2 separate regions of the Homo sapiens genome follow, and region 2 is linked to region 1. Evidence: promoter capture Hi-C in 16 types of primary human blood cells and fetal thymus (Javierre and others, 2016). All regions are on one chromosome and are shown on one strand. The core of a region is centred on a gene start or on the middle of the fragment in contact, and the rest is flanking DNA. Distances in the headings are between cores, read along the strand shown.

The links. Contacts are between HindIII fragments. The CHiCAGO score rates a contact against its expected background, and 5 or more counts as called.
Region 2: a fragment that was not itself captured here is called in contact with the fragment with the promoter of SLC9A9-AS1 in region 1 in 8 of 17 cell types (M2 macrophages, endothelial precursors, naive B cells and 5 more); the score reaches 9.3 in M2 macrophages.

What each region holds. Positions count from the first base shown.
Region 1 is chr3:143,340,298-143,343,921 of GRCh38, forward strand. It overlaps SLC9A9-AS1 (SLC9A9 antisense RNA 1), which reads left to right and starts at 1,949. Exons shown (of 4, transcript NR_048544.1): 1 at 1,949-1,987; 2 at 3,053-3,317. The region is part of intron 14 of SLC9A9 (solute carrier family 9 member A9); the gene reads right to left. The HindIII fragment of the contact is 6,948 bases long and covers 1-3,624 here.
Region 2 is chr3:143,597,157-143,601,007 of GRCh38, forward strand. The region is part of intron 6 of SLC9A9 (solute carrier family 9 member A9); the gene reads right to left. Among named protein-coding and RNA genes, the nearest start is that of SLC9A9, 250 kb to the right of the region's middle. The HindIII fragment of the contact is 1,918 bases long and covers 583-2,500 here.

The sequences.
Region 1 (3,624 bases), core at 699-3,198:
TCAACACCAGCCTGAAATAAGGCAAGTCTCTCACAGGAATACATTCGGGATTTTACTATCATTTAACTGAAGGACTATTTTGATTACCTGCTGATTCAACATTAACTAGACATTTATTAGAACACCTGCTTTGTGCCAGGCACAGTGGTAGGCCTGGAGGCTATAGTGGGAAAAATAAAACAGGTACTAATGAGTAGTTGGAATTTCTTAATGGAAAACAAGATCATTCTCCATTGCAACCACTCTATAGCTAGTGGAGGCTTTGAAGAGACTCTTAGAGAGGTTTCAGTTCAGATCTTTCCTGGGGCTCACTTTGGTACCGTCTTCAAGATTTCTCTTGGAAAGGGGCATTAACTCCTTATCCTATCTTAGATGCAATCATATTGAGTTTTTGCCCTTACCATATTCATCAGTTTACATTTCTGAATATACTCATAAAAGGTCTCCTGGTCAGGTCTTATCTCCACTCACTAAAGATTCTCTTAACATCCAGAAATCTATCTCCAGACACCCTTTTATGTGCTCTTTCTAGAATGACAATATAAATGAGTTGGTACAAGAAATGTGAAAAAGAGAGATTGGAAATCTATTGAAATTTGCTAGTCATTAGTGCAGAAGGCTTTATTCACTTCCACATATTTTCTGCATTTAGGATCACCTGAACTTTATCACTTTTGCTGGTAGCAGAACAATTAAGCTGAATAGGACACTTAATTCTAAGAAAGTTCTAAAGAAATCTTTAAAATTTTTAAGACTATCCCTCTCACTATCCTTTAGGCTGAAAGTCTGTCCAAATGTCTTTTGGCACTTATGTGGAATATGATGAATTCCTTTCGCTGGATGTATCTCAGGATAGCATTAATTTGGTGTGATCGGGAGGTGAATTTCTTTAGGATCTTTTTCACTGTTCATGTGCTGTTTTGCAGTTCCTTTGGAGTAGTGGGGGCTTAAGGGGGCTTAGCTTTCATAAACTTTTGGTCTTGAGAATATATACCTGAGATGGGGTCGGTTTGGGAGCCTCCAATGCCTGTCAATTTGGGAACTCCAGAGTAGGATTTTATAAAAATAATCATCCATTCATAACTGTATTGAGTTACAAGGGAGGGCAAGAGAGTCATCCCAGGTCATAGTCATACAATGTAAATTTAGACCAAGGGATGAAACGTGTTGGAGAACACCCTGCAATAATCATTATTGGGTATCTGTGAATTTAACACACTTTTCAGAATGGGACAAGTTGCTTGCCACGGTAGGAAAAGCTGTGCCAAATGTTTGAGGAGAAATGTGGAGAGGAATAACATTAGCTTCAGATACCAAATTGCAAGTTAAACTTCCTGAGGATTTCCCGAACCCTGTTCAAATAAATTAAAATTTTGTTTACCAAAATGACTCCGATATGCAAATACAGAACACAGTGTTATATAGGTGCTAGGGACTGAAATTTTTTACAATCATATAATTTATTGTAATACTTAATATTATGATAAGACCGTTAATTTATCATATTTTCCCTGTAGTGTTTACTCACATGGACGGGGATAGATCCAGATTTCATGAAGTCTGAAGGTTACCTAATTTTGGAGGCTATTCTTAATAAAAAGAATGCACACTTTTGAATATCAACACTGGTCCCTTACAAAGGACCCATGCAGATGAAGAGCCCTGAAAGCTGAGTTTCATTGATTCCGGGTGAAACTACCTCTGGATGTGGAGCTGTGTTATGGGAATACCGCATCACAGTCAGGACCCAGCTCTGCTGCCGCCTCAGTAGGAGGCAAAGGTGGAAACGTGGAAACTATGGTTATAAGGTTCATACTTTACTGACCATCATTGAAGCTGCTTGTTGGGTCCCTTAGGAAGGGATCTCTCAATGAAACAAACATTAGAGCTTCTTATTTTTTTTTGAGACAGTGTCTAACTCTGTCACCCAGGCTGGAGTGCAGTGGCACCATCTTGGCTCACTACAACCTCTGCTTCCTGGATTCAGGTGATTCTCCTACCTCAGCCTTCTAAGTAGCTAGGATTACAAGGCATGTGCTACCATACCGAGCTAATTTTTGTATTTTTAGTAGAGACAGGGTTTTGCCATATTGGCCAGGCTGATCTTGAACTGCTGACCTCAAGTGATCCACCCTTATGACCAGCAGACCCTGATCTAAGAAGCTAGATGATTCCTCATGAGGTCACTTATAAACCTTATTGCTGATGTATTTCAGTTTATTTATTGGACTATCTTAGATTTTAAACACCCCACCCAATGCCACCATCTATGTAGCAACTAGAGCAGGACTCACAAATAAAATAACCTTCAAGGCCAAACAGCTTCCAATAGCCAGATTTGTCAAGATTAACTTAAGGTTTTAAAATTAGGCAATGCTTGTAGACACAAACCACTGTGGGCACCATAAAATATCACCTTATTTCAAAAGACTGAGAAAACTGAAAATGACCTGAAAAATTCCTATTGAGTGATCTATTTAATCACTCAGGTGGGGTATGGTGTATCTGGTGCATGTTCAACCTCAGGTGCAGGTGCATGTGCATGCAAATATACACGCGCCACGCTTTTAACCATGCATCTCTCTTTGAAAAGATCATTCCTTCTTTCTTATCTATATGTGAACAAATTGTCAAAACAACCTCAAATGCTAGATGATATAATCCCCAAATGCTAGTAATATAAAAATGACTGTAATAATACAAGTGATATCATTGCTATACATAGCACCACACTTTTACTGTTTCTCAAATCTACAACTATCCTATTTTCTAGTGTTTGTTTATTTCTTTATTCACTGAAATGACTGATATGGGCAGTTTAGACACCCAGAGGAGGAGATAATGGTTTTGATTGTGCTAGATGGTTTGACTCTGCTGAGTGTATCCTATAGACTTAATACCAACAGAGGTCATGGATATTTTTTTCCCACTTCTTTTCCTCTTTATTGTTAAGGAGACTAATTGTGTGTGAGTGTATGACAGGAAATGTTTTGATTTTTTTGTAGTGGCAAGAACAGGAGGGCATTCTTTTAAACATCTTTTCATTTTCTAGGCAAAGCGTGGGAATGGAGGATGAGAGATAGTCAATTTTCAGAATAAGATGTTCTACCAAGATGTAAAGAGGGGAAAAAAAGTAACTTTCAACAGCTAGGCAAGAACTGCCACAAGCAGTAGTCGAAAAAATCAACGGCATGGTTTCCTAATGTGGTCTTGGATTCAGCAAGAAAATACTACAGAGAGAAAACTGCAGGAGTCCCTATTTTGTCCCCTCAAAATGAATTAAATGGTCTAGTGGAAGCTGAAGGACTCTGAAGATGGTGAGTCTACCACTGATTCTTCAGATGGTGTCAAAGATGATTCCTGGTTAGGTATAAAAAGCAGCACTTTTAGTCTGCTATTCATACATTAAAAATGACAGAGAATATACACCTAGAATATTTACCTAGTACTGCTGCCTTGGAAACATGGTTCTAGGTCTCAGGAGTTTCCCAACAAGGAGTCTTTGTGCTCTTGAGACCTCAACAATGTACTGAGCTGACTACCTCAGCAATATTCTATCTAAACTAACACCCAGGTATAGTGATCAATGGTCTAACCAGCTTGCAAGTTATGGCTGAAATAGTG
Region 2 (3,851 bases), core at 292-2,791, 260 kb after region 1:
TTGGTGCGCAGGCACACACCTCCACTTATTATATAGCCTGTTCGTGTAAGTTCATGCTTGGCTTGGAGCCACTATTGTCTGTAAAAGGTATAACTGTCCTGCTGACTCTGTGCACGGGGCTTAGCTCTTGGGGGGCTCGGCTCGGCTCAACACGGCTTGACATGGTGGGCACGCTGGCGTCCAGAGAAAGAGAGAGCCAAAGCTGTCCTTCTTGCAGACAGACAGGAGGGGGCCAAAACACAGCTCAGGCTTGTTTGTGCTCAAAGAGAGAAAGTTAAGCTGTTGACCCTGAAGGCAAGGGAGAACTGGCCTCGCAACCTTGCGTGGGGGTGGCCAATTCAAGCAGCTGAGACAGAGCGGACAGCGTAAGAAAAGCTGCTCAGGAGAGAGGTAGTTTAAGAAAGCTGTTGATGAGAGCTGCTGCTGAATAAAACCATATTCACCCGCCTGTGGCCCCCCGAGGGTTCTTTCTGCTCATCCACCCACTCCCCTCGGACTTCAGCATGGTGTGGACCTGGACCCCAGGATCTGACAGCCATGAAAGATGTTGTTAATCTCAGAATAGAGTTAAGAGGAAATTAAAGCTTACTTTTAAACTATTTTACACTTACTGGCAGGCAGGAGCCAAGTGGTTCCTATAGTCTCAAATGTAGAGATTTATCAAAGCTGTAAGGAAGGTATGGCGCTAAAAGGTGCAGAAAACTGGCTTCAATTAACATTCTAATCATCACTGTCAACGCCATTATGCAACTCTGTGTAGAGTGGCATATTCGGCACTGTGGGGTTAAACATAAGCAGTGGGCGCTGCCTTCCCTAGAATCGCAGTATCGAGAGCTGTTGTCAACAGCTCAATTCGGGGCCTGCAGACAAAAGGTTCTGTACCCACTTACCAATTCCCTGAGCTCTCCAGTCCCTGGTAAATTGCTTTTGAACACATTCTCAACTTTTATCTTTTTTTTTTTAAATGAAAATGTTAGTGGGTAAAATCCAGTATAAGGGACACATTATTCTGAGAGCATAGCTTTCCCTACCGATACCAGCGTCATTTCCACTGCTCTGTAATAAGTAGCTGCAGCTGTTGCCATGGCGATTTTCATTTTTAAAAACTGTATCCATACAAAGACAGGCAACGCAGCTGTTTCCATGAAGCATCACGAAATAAGCCCAGATGTAATGGCACTCCTGTCTTTTTCCAGAATTAAGGAGATGTGTCTAAAAGTCCAGGTAGAGCCAAAGGATGGGGCTGTAGCTGTGCCTTGAGAGGAGCCTCCTGCTTTCACTTGAAGCTCAGGACACTAATGGAGGGTAAATTAGTGGCGCTAGTGAGCGTTCAATTTCTACCCAGTTTTCTCAGGCAGATTCTTTGTACCAGTGAATCACTATTTACACTGTGATTATAACTTCCTCCAATAGCCTCCTTTGAAAAAGACACCGTCTTCCTCCAAATCCGCACATGCTACCCCGGAACATTACAAGAACAAGCACTGCTGATGGGGCTCAGTACTTGTTTTTCTGAAGTCCCGTGGCCTCCTACCTACATGTTATTAAAATGCTGCAAGCAAGCAAGTCAACACAAGTTTTTAAAATCATTCTCCACTTTCCAGTTAGAGGAAGCGTGCTGCCTGCTGCTGCCCTTGTCCTTTAATATGGAGGGAGTTTGGTTTTCTCTGTGTGTGGTCTGGTAGGCACCAATAAGGACAAAAAGATACCTGTCAAGCTCACCATTTCCTGAACAATGGTATTATCTTTCTCAGGGAACAGGAATCTTTTGTTTGTTTCTATTTTTGTTTTGAGGCCATTGATTTGCTAGCCAAGCCAGATGCTGAAAATTATGTAAGTAGAACCCACAGGTCGCCTCAATCCCTCATTCTAAACAAGATTCAAATGAGTTACCCCCTCACTGACCTGGAGAGCTATTTCTTCTGTCACATAGGTGCAGTGCACCAGATGGGACTGTGGCAGAAGAATAGTTAGGTGAAGAAAGCCTACCGTGTGCCTCATGGGGAAAGGATTTTAAAAGAAATTATATTTCCTGTCCATAGTCCTCCATCTCATATAACTATTTAACTCGTAAAAAACATAATTATGTTTCTGAATTTCTTTATATTTTGCCAATCAGTTACAGCTATTTTGTTGTTACTAAGAGCATTGAATTATAAACAGTATAAAACGCCAAATGCTCAGGAATCTAATAATAAAAGGACTTTTCCTGGAAAGCATAAGTAGTTCTTTTCTTCTATAAGGAGAGCCTCTGTTTGCAAAGAAATACGGCTGTGCTTAACATCTGAGTAGTCAGCAATCTTAGTGGTGGTGGTTGCTATTAATTGTAGTTGAGATGTGACCTACACATAATCCACAGAAGCCGTGGGGCTTTATGAGCACAACAATTGCCTGTGTTTGATTCTACCTTGCCAGGGATACTCTCCAAGATCCTGCAAAATATCATTTCTCTCCTTTGCACTATTGAGATGCAAATGGCGCTACTGGCTGACCACCGACAAGCTTTATGAGCAATAAGGAATCCAAATTCCTTCAAGGCATCCTTAAATATTAAAATGTCATACATAAACAAAATATGTAATGAACTTCAAATAATTACAACAAACAAAAATCTTATGCGTCCCTCAAGACCTGTAAGAAATCAAAGGGTCTCAGAATATTTCATCTGTCTTATCATCGAAGTAAGATATCAATGCCTCTTTCCATTTAAGAAAAATCCCAGAAACCAAATCAAAACAAAAAATTCTGGAGAATGCACTTGTCCAACATAAAGCAACTAAACAGTCACTGTCCCGATTATTGTTCTCTGGCGTTTTACCTACCAGCCCGGTACTGCTTCCAGATGTTTTGCTACCTTTTTTTTTTAATTAAAAAATTTTTTTTATAATTATACTTTAAGTTCTGGGATATATGTGCAGAATGTGCAGGTTTGTTACATAGGCATACATGTGACATGGTGGTTTGCTGCACCCATCAACCCATCATCTACATTAGGTATTTCTCCAAATGCTATTCCTCCCCTAGCCTCCAACCCCTCAACAGGCCCCGGTGTGTGATGTTCCCCTCCCTGTATCCATGTGTTCTCTTTGTTCAACTCCCACCTATGAGTGAGAACATGCGGTGTTTGGTTTTCCGTTCCTGTGTTAGTTTATTGAGAATGATGGTTTCCCATCAACGATAGATTAGATAAAGAAAATGTGGCACATATACACCATGGAATACTATACAGCCATAAGAAAGGATGTTTTGCTATCTTAAAGAGAAGCAAGAACTGAAAGAAATTCCCCTGGATGGACAAGAATTCTATAAGTGTGTGAAAAATACAACAAGTAGAACTCATTAATTTATCAGATTTTAATATTAACACATGGGTAAGTTGAGCTTTAAAGCTAATAACTCTACTATTTCTAAATATCAATGATCTGCAGAGATTGGTGACATTCTTATTCCCTACATAGAATTGAGATCACCCTCCCAAAACGCAATAAATCAGAGAGGTTGATCAGCATGAAAATGTCTATGTTGGTCAGCAACCATGGCTAAGGAAAGAATTAGGAAATTATTTCATAGCTATCATGAGGAGCTAAAATAATGAAATATAGGAGATATAGACTGTTAAATTAACCATAAGGCTGAAAACATTTTCTCCACAAATGTTTTCAACTACTTCAAATCCTCTTTTTCACTGTGCCCAAGGCTAAGTGAGAGGAGACCCACTGGGCTGCCTCTCTCACTCCTGGCAGGGCTTGCTGGAGATCAGAAGAATAATGCAGGGAGGAAGTTCTGTGTGATTTATTTCAACTGAGCATAACAAAGTGGTGAATGGGGATGTAAGCGGAAATGTTGCAAGT